5 separate regions of the Homo sapiens genome follow, and regions 2, 3, 4 and 5 are each linked to region 1. The links are contacts of gene promoters, found by promoter capture Hi-C in human tissues and cell types (Jung and others, 2019). All regions are on one chromosome and are shown on one strand. The core of a region is centred on a gene start or on the middle of the fragment in contact, and the rest is flanking DNA. Distances in the headings are between cores, read along the strand shown. Region 1 holds the start of PAX1 (paired box 1). Region 2 overlaps KIZ (kizuna centrosomal protein). Region 3 has its middle 33 kb from the start of LINC01432. Region 4 has its middle 26 kb from the start of LINC01432. Region 5 has its middle 71 kb from the start of LINC01432.

Region 1 (2,700 bases), core at 17-2,516:
CGGGACTGGGGTAGGGGTACTGGTAGATGTGGTTGTAGGGCAGCGTAGGCTGCGACGGCGGCTGCTTACTTGCCTCGTACGGTCCGGGCTGCGCCAGGCTGCCGATCTTGTTGCGCAGGATGCGGCTGATGGAGCTCACCGAAGGCACATTGTACTTGTCACAGACGCCGTCGGCCAGCAGCCGGTCGCGGATCTCCCAGGCAAAGATGCCAGGGTCTCCTTGCTTGTAGTCCCGGATGTGCTTGACCACGTTGGGAGTGGTGACGCGGGGCTTGCTCCCCCCGATGGCCCCGGGCAGAATGGAGCCGGTCTCGTTGTAGCGCGCCAGGATCTTGCTCACGCAGCCGTGGGATACGCGGAGCTGCCGACTGATGTCACAGGGTCGGATGCCCAGCTGCGCCAGCTCCACAATGCGCAAGCGGATGGCGTTGGGCAGGGGGCGGCCGTTGACGAACACACCGCCCAGCTGGTTCACCTCGCCATACGTCTGCTCTGCGGATGCGCCAGACAAGAGTGAGCCGGAGGGGGAGAAAACACCCGGCGGGTTAGCCAAGGGTCCCCACGCGGAGCGAGGGACTGCACCCAGGCGCACTTCCAAAGGTGACCTGTGGGTCCCCAGACAGCTCGGAGTCCAAGGGCAAACCGCCTGGGTCTGGCTTGGAGTGGGCAAGGGCGCAGAGGAGCCGCGGAGTGGAGCGCGGCGCATTGTAGCCCTCCGTGCCCTTTCGCGACTTTTAGCGCGTCTACTTGGAACACTCCCTTCCCAGACTTGCTCAACTGCCCCCTGAAGGCTGGGGATCAGAGGAGAATGCAGCTTCTCCAGGACCCAGGACTGGGTCGCCCAGGGAAAGCGGACGAGAGGGAAGGGAGGCAGGCGGACCCGACCCACCTCATCAGCCCTCCCGAGCCCTGCCTGTCGCCCGCCCCTTACCCATAGCGAGCGGGCCGGCCAGCTGCCTGGCGCCGGGGTGGCCGGGGTGGCCGGGGCTGGGCCCGGCGCAGTCCGGGAGAGCTTGGGCGCCGCCGCCGCCGCGTGAGAGGCATAGAGGGAGGGCGCCCGAGAGCCGAGAGCCGCGGCGGCCCAGCCGCGGGCTGGAGACGCGCTGTGCGCGGCAGCGGAGCGCGCTGCCGCCCGCTCCAGGGCCTGCCGCCGCCGCTGCTGCCCCCTCCCAGGACACTCTCCACGCCCGCGACCCCAGGCCCAGGGTGAACTTCATCCGATTGGGAGAAATTCGTCTGACCGGGAGGCTGCAGCGTGCGGGAATCAATTTGACGTGTCCTCCACGTCAATCTCGGCAGTCACGCCGGAGACGCGCGAGTTGGCAGCTCATTGGTTCCCGTCACTGCGCCCCAGCGCCCCCCTCCCCGCCCTGAAACTCTACCCCCTCCTTCTATCCTCCCCCCTCGGCCCTCTTCCACCACCCCCCCGGAACCCACCCCTCTACACACACACACACACACACACACACACACACACACACACACACGTCCCAACCCCAGCTGGGCCTGGGACCTTCCACTGCTCTGAGCCCCTTTCAGCCCCCTTCCTCCTCTAGCTTTGGGAATGAGGGGGAAGTCATCTCAAATTGATTAGTGTGTTAGTACTAGTACTCGTTTTCGTTTTGGTTTTAGTTTTATTTCCGCCACCATTAATAATAAGATAGAGAATAAAAGTTTATCGTGGAAAGGTGTTTCGGGTGTGGCTCTCTCTACCTCCCCACTCCCGGGGCAGCGGCCGGGGAAGGGTGGGATCAGTACCCCAGCTGGCTGGGAGTGTCAAGGTGAGCGTCCAGCGCGGTGCAGGGCTCCTGTCAGGAAGACACAAGGCGGAACTTGTGTCCCATTCCTGGCCAGGTCCTCAATCCTTCTCTCAGGAAATCTTCACGTTTAATAGCCAACCACTCTTGGAATAGTGGGGGTGATTTCGGTGATGCGAGAGGGGCACGGTCCAAATCCTGTCTCCTACAGCCAGGCCCAGCCACCAGAACTCATCCCTCTCCAAGCAGTGACAGAAGGGGCAGGAGGCAAAAGGATCCCGATCTGCTGCTAAGGGGCGCATAGATCCGGCGCCCTCCTGTCCCCAAGCGCGACCGGCGGGAGGCCAAATGCATAGCTCCAGCTCTAGGTCTGAAGGACAAGTTCCTTTCTCCCTGGCGGTGGAATCTCGCACCACTCTATCCCAGGTGGCCTGGCCTCGTCTTTCTCCCAGCACCTGCAGCTTCAGGAAGTCTCTGTTAAACCACAGAATGGTCATTTCTCCTTCATTTAAATGAGGTTTTGCGCAGCCCTGAATTATTCACCCCTGAGATTGAACATCAACAATTTCTCTGTTTCTACCCTGCACCAAAGCAGTTCTGAACTCCCCAACCTGTGCAGCTAACTGTGTCCGGGAGCCATGCGGTGAGGGCCAAGAGGAGGAAACTCGTGGTTTTGAACATGAACTGATTTGAGGGGGTCAGGATCTGAGAGCTCTGAGGTTGAGCCCAGTAAGCACCAAAGGCATTGGGCTGAATGTGCTAGACCAGGAAGAGGGCATAGGGGAGAGAGTAGGAACAGCCGAGGTTTCTGAGACTCCCAGCGCTCCCCTGGAGGAGAGAACCCTCTTCCCCTCCCTCCTGCCCACCCCAAGGGTCTAGCTCTCCTTAGCCACCCAGAGTTGAGTATGGCGCCAGCGCGGTGACAGTGGCTGAGGAGCACATG
Region 2 (2,700 bases), core at 20-2,519, 480 kb after region 1:
TATAGAAGCATCCAGTCCAGAAGACCCTTCAGAAAAGTACCTTTTATCCTTTAATGACCATGTTAAATAAACAGCACTGCCCTGCAATATAATGAGGACTGTTTTGCTACCGCAAGTAGCAGGCAGCAGGCTCCATGGGTGAAGCCCCAGCAGGCTGACCCCTGGCACAGAGACAGGGCCACGTGGACTTTCAATGGACAATCCAGCAACACACAGTGGTTCCCCTGGTTTTGCACAAGCTGGGGGTTTCCCGTTCCAGGCACAACAGGTAATATGTCTTGACTGAGTCTTGTCAGGAAAATGCTTTGGGATAGGACAGGTGAAGCACATTCTCGGTAAAACCTCAGTACTAGTGGTGTTATGCCACTGTGCTTTGGGAGCCCAAAGTCATCACTACAGTCTTTCCTCCCAGGATAAATCCAGTCACCAGTGACAACCTAGCCACTATATCTTTCCAGCCCTTTTCCAAATTGATGTAAAACTCAAGCAATCATGTTTTGGGAAGCACTGCCTAGAACTCCAAGTGGCACCCTCCAAATCTATACTGACCTCCTGGAAAGACTCTAAATGGATGTCTTAGTATTACCCTGCATATTTCAGCTTGCCAAAGAATATCCACGAGGAATGGCACAGTCAGGCAACCACTTTCAACACAGCTTGACCAAGAGAATTGGTGTCAAAAGAATGAGAGTCTGAATGGACATTCTTAGAGGCTTAATCCTCTTGAGATAAAAGCTGAGAGCCCTTTTCACATGGAGCTTAAGGAGACTAGTTTTGCCAGGATGGGCACGTGGGGTGGGAAAAGTATTGGTGGAGTGCATGACTGAAAGAGATAGTATTCTATCCTGAATCATCAAGCATTTAAGAAAATTCCTTAATATCCCCATTTTTATTCATTTGACAAATTAAGTGCCCACTCTGTGCCAGATACTGTGCTAGGTGCTGTATTTTTATGACATTTAGCATAGCTGCATCATCTGCTAAAGCTAAAACTCACTTAATGCTGAAAGGTAAATTTAGTGTGAATACAAATAAAATTGTCAATGTGGGAAATTTTCACTTTGCGGATGTAAGTAGTTCAAAAGGCAGACTTTCTCTCCCAATCTAGATAAGCATCACTTTCCTCATGGCCTGAGTGTTTCAGGCAAACTGACCTACATAGTAGGTCAGGAAGTGTTTCAGGGAAACCGACCTCCCAGCAGCCCAGCTGGGCTCAGGTTTGCCCCACTTTATAAAAGGCCTGCCTCTCGGGATGAGCTGCATTTGAAAATCCTTGCATGCTGCCCACCTCTCCAGGCCTAACCCAAGAGAAAGGAAAGGCAAGCTTTGTTTATCATTGCTCTCAGAAGCAGCCTTGCAAAGCCCATCTTCTGTTATGATGTACACTGATGTTTAATTGATCCGGACATCCTGATGCAGTTGTCTTTTTGGTAAAATAAAAAAGGCAGGGTAGGCCGGGCGTGGCGGCTCACGCCTGTAATCCCAGCACTTTGGGAGGCCAAGGTGGGTGGGTATCTTTAGGCCAGGATGCGAGTACAGCCTGGCAAACGGGGCAAAACCGTCTCTATTAAGAATACAAAATTAGCCAGGCTTGGTGGAACATGCCTGTAATCCCAGCTACTCAGGAGGCTGTGGCACGAGAATCGCTTGAACCCGGGAGGCAGAGGTTGCACTGAGCCAAGATCGTGCCACCGCACTCCAGCCTGGGTGATGGAGTGAGACTCTGTCTCAAAAATAAATAAATAAATAATAAAAAAACAAAATAAATAAAAGAGGCAGGGCAGTGAAATGGAAGGAGTTCAAGAGCCCAAATCCTAAAGTCTGAGTTCAATTCAAGATCAAACACACCAGCTACATGGCCTTGAGCAGGATACCTTTCTAAGTTTCTGTCTGACCACTTGTAGGGTGAGTACTAATGTTTACCCTATAGGACTGTTGTAAAGGTTAGAGATGAGGGAGGCTTAGTGAGGGCAGGGATACCATCTTTTGTGGTTTCTGGTATCCCAGGATTCAGCCCACGTAAAAATATTAATTTTATTAACTAATATAATTAAGGATTTTATATATAATCATCTATAATGATATATGATATATAATATATAACTAATATATATTGTATCAATACATCTAATTATATACTACTTATTATATACAGAAAACCATACATTTATAGATATAAAAATTCATCTTTGATTTCCACCTGGATTCTTTAGTGAACAACAACTAGACTAATAAAAGGGGTAGATTATATTCACAACAACAGATCATACAGGCTATGGAATACTGACTCTGTGTTTGTGGGTGGGGCATCAGTGTGTGCCCAGGAGGGTTTCTATGTAAATCTAAACACAGAAAACTCGCATGCTCCATAATAACGATTAGCAAAGCAGATGCCTTCAAAGTGATAGCAGACTCTTTAAGGAGGAGCCCCAGCCAAGAAGACCTCCGTTTTGTGGTGATAAGCAAATGAGAAAGGGAAATGAAGAGATGAGAATGCTGGCACACTGGATTCCATTAGCATAGAGGAAGAAGCACAGTCCCTTGGCATTAGAAGGAATGTCAGGGGTCACAGAAGCAATAATTCCTTCCACAATGCTCTTTTAAAGAGCCACAGGGCCAGGCAAGGTGGCTCATGCCTATAATCCCAGAACTCTGGGAGGCCAAAGTGGGCAGACTGCTTGAGGTCGGGAGTTGGAGACC
Region 3 (2,700 bases), core at 179-2,678, 380 kb before region 1:
CAATGGGCTTAAGTATTACATATAAACAGCATACCCTTCTGCCTGGGCAAAAGAGACTTCTGCCATATGCGTATACTTTAAAGTATACGCCCCAAATATCACACCAAAAAAAGCCCAAGTTAATAAATATAGGGCACCTTAATCAGAACATGACCCTAAGCAGCCACCTTAGGACTAATGTAGTTGAGGCCCCAGGTAAATGCTTCTCTCCATTTTTTGCCTTATGTCTTCAAAGCAAAGGGTGACTGCATGGAAAGGCAATGAAGATCTGCATGCTGTGCTTCTGTCAACGTTAGAGATAGACATGGCTTCAGAACACAGAGAGTTTTAAGCAGTGGAAGCATTTAGTCAAAATAAGTAAGTACAAGACAAAAATTAATTTTCTCTCAGAAAACATAATGACAGCAAGTCCTTGGGTAACAAAACATCATTTTCCAGTGGTGCCAACCATTCATTTTCTTGTTTTCTGTGTGCTACCAGAAGTATTCATGGATTTTCACATTATTAGCAATATTTGCATTTTTGTTAGGGAATATTTACAATATTAACAATAAATACTACTTTTAAATATATAAGTATATAATGCACATAATTACCCATATATATGTATACATATATATCCACACAGACATGCAGGTGCAATTCGTTACATTTGGGATTTAGATGAACGTTGAATACATCAATTCCAAGAATTGCAAATAACCTACTTTTGGTTATTTGATGCACATACGACCAACTTTTTACTTAATATGGCATTGTGAATATTATCTTTTATCACATAATATCTAACTAATTCTCTATTTTTGGACCTTTATATTTTCACCCTTTGCTTCCATAATTAGGGATGAGATAAACAGTGTTACCATCAAAGTTCTACAAGTATTCATGGGATAATATTCTAGAAATTATTTGCTGAGTTAAAGGAAACATAAAATTTTAGTGTGGGCTGTATTACAGTAATCAGTAATTATTTTAGTTTAATAAGCTTAATAAACATTTCAGTAAATGTGTCATAATTAGAGCATCTCATGAATAGCATTCTATTGTCTTTTTAAATTTTTCAGATAAATAACCAAATTTAATACATCAAAGAAGCAATCATGAATGTCAGACAATCAAATTATATCTCAGAAAATGCCTACAACTTTAGTTGCTCTAAAAAAGTGGGCATTCTTAGTCAACCATGAATCTTTTTAAAAAGATGTCCCACACACTTGGACAAAATATATACACACATGTTACATGAGCATGCATTTGTGTTTATTTATTCATTTATTTGTGAATGATTATTATAATACATACTTTGGAAAGACATTTGAGTGAGTAGTTACACCATAAAAATATGCCATGGCTTGGAGGATTTCTCCCATTTGAAGCCTCTGTAGTTCAAAGAGAGAATCTATGATTTGGGTAAATATTCATTTACAAAAAGAAACCAACAAAAACAAAATTTTTTTCTTATGATTTCTTTTTAAAGTCAAGTTTACTTTAAGTGAAAACACAATAAATATTTGGTAATAGGGAGCAGACCCAAAGTTACAGAATAAAAACTATTTAATACCAGATAACAAAACAGAGTCGTCAAAGGAAAACTCATCTTAAACTATTTATAGCATAACCTTGCCCATCTTATAAAGGCTTTTATGTGATACTTGGTTATTCATGTGATTCCTACCAACATATGTGTTTATGTTATTTTGAAGGAAACTATTCAACCAATTATATTGTTCAATTCATCTATTAAGCTTTAATGTTCTTTTACACAAAAATGTTTTTGACAAATTGGCCAGTATTTGATCTACAGTTTATATTTTGCTACTTTTTTGCAGGGAAAATTAATATTTATCTTCATGTAACACTTTACTGAACAGAACTAATAAACACTCAACAGGAGTTTCAAACTGAAGTATATATGAGATTCAAATACATTAAACAGAATTCTTTCAAAAACTTGCCAATTCACAGGTCATGTGGTTTAAATTTTTACATATGAATTTGACACTCAGCACTCTAACTTAAGCATCATAAATATGCAGAAATAGTGCACAGTATACAAAATTGGGAAGTTGCTTTCTCTCTTATGTCCATGGCCCACTCTATTAATTACACTTTGTCTTCAAAAATCTCTCTGATCTCATGCCACTGACTGAGAAATCCCCTAGTTAAATGAAACTCTAGAAGGTCATTAAAGAAGACCTCCATTTGTCACCTCATACTGTAGCTTTTAGCCTCTTCTTGGACTGTTTAAAAAATATGCTGGTGGTGACTCTAGTTCAAGTTAGGCCTCACCTGAGGCCACAAATTGTGGAGAGTCAATAATCAGTAAAGCCCACTGAGTTATAATTTGACTCAGGGAGCCCTACAACCAGAACCCAAGAACTGAGCTGACACAGGCCTACTTGGGACAACTGTTGATATGGGCATGAGGCTGTGGGAGTGCAATAGGGAAGGAGTGTTCATTTTTATAAGAAAAGCTGGTGTGAGTATTCTGTTCCTAGATGACTCAGGATTTTATCTGAATCCTAAGAAATTTTTCTGCTATAGGACCTTGGTTTCCCAAAACATCTCTAGAAGACAAATGGTTGTTCCTAATTATTGTCCTGAAATTTAGGACTCCCTTCTAACCTGGCTCCACTGTGCCCATGGCTGCTTATACTTGTTCTTGGCCTTTTTTGAAGCTTTTTTCGTTTAACCCTAAAT
Region 4 (2,728 bases), core at 209-2,708, 320 kb before region 1:
TATATCTTACTTATAAGATATAAATTCTTTTATCAAATTATTGTATCAAAGCTCTTTGTTAATATCTTTTTTATGAAGCTTTGTCAAACTTTAAGAATCCCAAAAGTTTTTCCATTTCATAATATACTCAATCAAAATTTTGTTTTTAACCTTTTAATGTTAGCTTGCTTTCTGAAATAATGTCCAGGCTGCACTCCTCCCTCCCACCTCTCAGTCTACCCCCAAGCCCTCCTGCATCCACATAGAGTCTGTGGCCGTAAAACTTGAACAATGGAGTTACACTGGCCTCGTTTCTGGTCTCATCTTTCTTTTAAATGGCTGCAGGATCTTCAGAAAATTTGCTGAACTTCACTATTAGCCCACTACTTGCTTCGCTGCACAATGAGGATAATGCTAGTTCCTAAGCACACATAGGTAAGGCACTTAGCACAAGCCAGGTACCTGGTAAGCACCCAATAAATGTAATGTTACTGTTATCAACCACCACTTAATTATACACAAGAGAAGTACAGCTACTCTATAGCCACAGAGGAGGTTGTTTCCAACTATATCTGGATGACAGAACTTTGTGATGGAAGTGGACATGGTAAGTAATCACAAAGATGTCTGCCCAAGAGACTACCACCCTTGGTATGTATTACGTCTGTTTAGCACAGTCATCTGTTATCTTTTTTCCTTCTTTCTGTCCTGCAAGGCTGCTGATAAATTCACCAGATTTGCTCAGGGATTGTCAGCTAGAGCTCACAAAACTACTAATCTATCAGCGCTCTGGTTGGATACTTCAAAATGGATGTGAGCACATGTATAAGGCAGAGCTACATTTATAAACAGGTCATCTTGTAAATGTTAACATTTGCAATTGAGGTTATAGTTCCCTTCACTTATCATTCATTATAAGAACAATTAAAATGTTTATTTCTCTCATCTACGGCTATTTCTTGAGGTGATTTATATCAAATAGTATAATCCCCAACCAGAAAGATGGGCCTGCACACACGTGGTTTTGGCTCTCACATTACAATTGATAACCTTCAAAATGTTTTGTGTAATAATTTCACAACAGCTCAACTGAGAAAAAATTTTCATTTGCATTGTTCATGAATAAATTATTTGCCAAATGTGGGAGTAAAAATGGATCCAAAACATTTTGAAAAACTAAACTATTTGTCAGTATTAGTTAAAGCAAAACATACACGTACCCTATATCTCAGCAGAACAAAATATGTATGTTCCAACAAAAAAAAAAAACATAAGAGGACTTATTTCAGGATTATTTGAAATGACTGCAAACTAGAAAATACCCAAAAGTTGATCAATAGTAAAATAAATAAAGATATTGTGCTATAGTAATAAAATTGAATACTATACGGCTATGAGCATGAATGAACTCCAACTACCTACAACAAAGTGGATGAAATTCACAACCTGTTGCGTAACAAGAGCCTTATACGAAGGATATATACTGTATAAATAGCAAAGCTAATCCACATATTAGAAGTCAAGATAGTGGTTACTATTTGGAGGGCTCTGTCTGGAAGACGGCAGAGGTGATGGTGCTTCTGGGGGCTGATGAGATTCTGTCTCTTAATTTAGGTGCGGGTTATGCAAGAGTATTCGACTATTCGACTTGTGAAAATGCATTGAGCTGTAAACTAGTGATTTGTGCACTTTTCCTTTAAAAATTCTATTTAAAAATTTCACTGATGGACCTCTGGTATCATGGCCCCAGGGTTAACCTGGTTTTCTCTGTTTGCTGCACTATTTGACTGACCCAGCCACAGAGCATTGCTCACCAGCCTTCATGAGTGTCAACACTGTGGTCTTGACCTTTGACTATCTTCCATCCCCACCTAATAAGCTACCAGAAGTGTCAAAGCAACAACCCAACAAAGAAATAAGCATGTAGTCTTTTTGGTATTAGAAAAATCTACAGGAGTAAAACTACTGCAAGCTTTAAAGATGATTTAATGGCTTTATAATAGTTTTTTGTTTTGTTTTTGTTTTTGTCTACTCTGCAGTTTTCACCACCATTTTTCTGTTGGTGTCGTGGAGACAGGATGAAATTTATGCAGCTATCAGTCAAACACTAGTCAGACAAAATTGATGGGGCATTGAAAGTGGTAAAATTCACATTCTTGGACAGCAGAGGAAAATATGGTGGATAGGAGGCAGGACTAAATTGCAGCTCCCTAAATTGCAGAGCAGAGTGTGGAGACTCACATCATGAAGTTTTGCTCCAAGAACTACTGCAGGAATATACCAGGAAAGCCAAGAAAATCCACAAACCCTTTGAAGAAAGCAGATTACTTCTGCAGGACCTGAGAGACAGCCCAAATACTGTGAGTTCCCAAACTGTGAAAGTGGGAAAGGGAGATTGTCCACCCCCAAACACACACCCTCACTGGGAAACCTGAAAGGCCAGATCACAGGCGAAGGATTTGACCTTACCTGGAGCTGAGACAATTTAGAGAGCTGAGCAAAATACAGGGTAGAGGAAGCAGCAGGAAAAGCCCCGTGGGATTTCTGGGTCCCCAGGGAAGCCATTTCTGACTTGTCTCATAGGCGTCCTTGGGGAGGGCTACCAGGGGAACTTGGAAAAGACCACAGGGAGAAGGAAACCTCTAGACAAACTTGGTAATAATTCCAACCAAACATGAAGCTTCCTGACCAGAACTCAGTGGATGGCGTGAATCTTGTGGGCAGACTCAACAGGCAGGGAAGCGCAAAA
Region 5 (2,700 bases), core at 173-2,672, 420 kb before region 1:
TCATGAGCTCAGCTGCAGGGGTCAGCTGTGGGAGCATGCAGAGAGTGCTCTTGCCCTCTCTCTCTCTTCTTGCCTTGAACAAGGGCATAATGGCCAGCTTATTGCCATATTGAAAACATCATAAGAATCTCAGAGAATTTATTTTTTACAGAAATAAACTAAAGAAAGAGCATCAGCAACCATTTATGTTTTGACTTCTTGTTTTGTGAGGGAAAGAAAATGGCATTGTAGTCATCTGAAAGGATTCATAATTGATAAGTGTGTGTAATGATCAGAACAGATGGTCCTATCCATAGAAAAGAGTGAATAAATAGATGCAGGTACAACTGGGAACTTTTATGATAAGGTTGTTTCAAATCAGTGGTAATAAATTAAAACAAGTTCATAGCCAGTTGAAGGAAGGAAAATAATAAGATTTACCTTGCTTTTTTTTTTTTTTTTTTGAGACAGAGTCTCACTCTTGTTGCCCAGGCTGGAGTGCAGTGGTGCAATCTCAGCTCACTGCAAACTCCGCCTCCCAGGTTCAAGCAATTCTCCTGCCTCAGCCTCCTGAGTAGCTGGGATTACAGGCATGCACCACCACGCCTGGCTAATTTTTGTACTTTTAGTAGAGACGGCATTTTGCCATGTTGGCCAGGCTGGTCTCGAACTCCTGACCTCAGGTGATCCACCCACCTTGGTGTCTCAATGTGCTTACTAAGCAAAAATGAGGAAATGTTTATTTCTTCTTCAATGCTCCTCCAACATGTAGAAAGAAATCTTTGCCTTAATGTTCACTTTTTAAATAGTTATAACTGCAGGCCAAGTGTTGAAGAAGTAAATTGGGAATATTATATTGGCTTATTGTGCTTTTAAAATTATAGTCCCCTTTATTAACCTTTATTAACCACAAATTGAATTTGTATTACACACAAAGATGAATCAGCATTTCCCTGAAGTGAAACCAACAATGAAATAATTTTTGTTGTATTTATAGTTTTGAAACAAAGAAGTGCATCTTTGTGTTTTCCTTTTCTAGTTTTCCTAACAGTATTATTCAATCCTTATAAAATGACTTGCGTGGCTTCACTTTTTTTCAGTTAAGCTATAATGAGACATATATGTTTATTGAATTGGTGCTGAAAGTTACTGGAAAAACCATGTGGGTCTGATGCCTTTGGGAATAAGATACTGATTACCATTTCAATTTGTATTAATACTTGTTTTATGGTTGTGAAGACTAATCATGGCATTTACACTTTCCTAGAAAATTGTCCATTGCATGGGCTTTTAACCTACTGGCATACAGTTGTTCATATCAATTCATAGTTTCTAAAATACTTCATTATATGTTTGTGCTCCATTATTTTTTCCTGATATTGTTTGTTTATATTATTTCTCACTCACTTTCTCTCTCTCACTCTCACTCTCTTTCACCATCAAAACATTTGTCTGTTATACTGGTCTTTAAAAATAGTGTTTAGTCTTAACGATCCACTCTACTTTTTATTTGCCACTTAATTACTTTTGTCTTTTATTTTTATTTCCTTCTTTCTATTTGGTTTAGATTTTGTATTGTTCCTTTTTTTCACCTTTTGGATTTGAATATTAGTTAATTAATCATAAATTTGTCCCTTAATTACAGCTTAAGGGTGCATACTATTGGTTCTAATATACAGCAGTCTGTTTTAAATATTTTATAACATTTCCTTAGATTTACTGTTTAATAATTTTTGAAGAAATGAGTCTTATAATTTCTCAAGGGTGTTTTGACTATTATATTTGTGTTCTAATTTTATGTATTTTGTGGTGAATATTCTCTCCGCAAAGCCCATCTAAACATGAGAAAAATATCAGAGAAACCCAAATAGTAGGATATACGATATTCTGACCAGTATACATGAGAACTGACAAGGTCATTAAAATCAGTGAAAATCTGAGAAACTATCAAAGTTCAGAGGAGACTAAGAACACATGAAAACTCAATGCAATGTGGTATCTTGGATGGAATACTGGAACATAAAAAGGACATGGGAAAAACTAGTAACATTTGAATTAATTGTGGAGTTTATTTAATAATAATACACTGATGTTGTTTCATTACTTTTGACAAATTTATCATTGTAACATAAAATGTTAACAACAAAAGAAACTGGGTGAACATTATATGGGAACTCTCTACGGTAGATTTGCAACACTGCTATAAATCTAAGACTATTCTAAAAATTGCTTACATTTTAAGATAGCTAAACAAAGCAGAACAAAAACGCTCCTGGGGTTTTTTCCCCCACTCAGCATACAATATGCCCATGTCCCTATCACGTCTCTCTGTCCCTGTTATCTTGACCTTTTTGCACAATACTTTCTCCTTTGCTCATTTTACTCTACCCCACCCTCATGGACCTTTTTCTTGTTCCTCCAGCATGCCAACTATGATGACTCTGCAGGACATGTTCACATGTTGTCTCCAGAATCCATGCATCTTACTCCCTCAAACTCTTTATACTTTTATGCAAATGTTCATTTTGAAGTGATGTATGTCTGACCACTTTATTTTAAAGTACAACTTACCTAAGTCTTCTCCTTATCCTTGTATCCCATTTCTTTTATTTTTCTTTCATAACATTTATGACTTCCATCTAACCCCCGCCCCCACCACAAACACACACAATTTTCTTTATTGTCTGTCTGCACTAATTAAACATAAATTTCATTAGGGTA

Evidence for each region. Contacts are between HindIII fragments. The study calls those that stand out against the background at their distance.
Region 2: a contact is called between a fragment that was not itself captured here and the fragment with the promoter of PAX1 in region 1, in 1 of the 25 tissues and cell types used here (stomach).
Region 3: a contact is called between a fragment that was not itself captured here and the fragment with the promoter of PAX1 in region 1, in 1 of the 25 tissues and cell types used here (hippocampus).
Region 4: a fragment that was not itself captured here is called in contact with the fragment with the promoter of PAX1 in region 1 in 2 of the 25 tissues and cell types used here (lymphoblastoid cells and spleen).
Region 5: a contact is called between a fragment that was not itself captured here and the fragment with the promoter of PAX1 in region 1, in 3 of the 25 tissues and cell types used here (aorta, dorsolateral prefrontal cortex and stomach).

What each region holds. Positions count from the first base shown.
Region 1 is chr20:21,704,230-21,706,929 of GRCh38, reverse strand. PAX1 (paired box 1) reads right to left here and starts at 1,266. Exons shown (of 5, transcript NM_001257096.2): 1 at 932-1,266; 2 at 1-492. The coding sequence starts at 1,217. The HindIII fragment of the contact is 9,805 bases long and covers 1-2,700 here.
Region 2 is chr20:21,219,532-21,222,231 of GRCh38, reverse strand. The region is part of intron 9 of KIZ (kizuna centrosomal protein); the gene reads right to left. Among named protein-coding and RNA genes, the nearest start is that of KIZ-AS1, 2.6 kb to the right of the region's middle. The HindIII fragment of the contact is 4,951 bases long and covers 1-2,700 here.
Region 3 is chr20:22,085,305-22,088,004 of GRCh38, reverse strand. No RefSeq gene overlaps it. Among named protein-coding and RNA genes, the nearest start is that of LINC01432, 33 kb to the right of the region's middle. The HindIII fragment of the contact is 3,134 bases long and covers 1-2,700 here.
Region 4 is chr20:22,026,915-22,029,642 of GRCh38, reverse strand. No RefSeq gene overlaps it. Among named protein-coding and RNA genes, the nearest start is that of LINC01432, 26 kb to the left of the region's middle. The HindIII fragment of the contact is 4,150 bases long and covers 1-2,728 here.
Region 5 is chr20:22,124,213-22,126,912 of GRCh38, reverse strand. No RefSeq gene overlaps it. Among named protein-coding and RNA genes, the nearest start is that of LINC01432, 71 kb to the right of the region's middle. The HindIII fragment of the contact is 5,203 bases long and covers 1-2,700 here.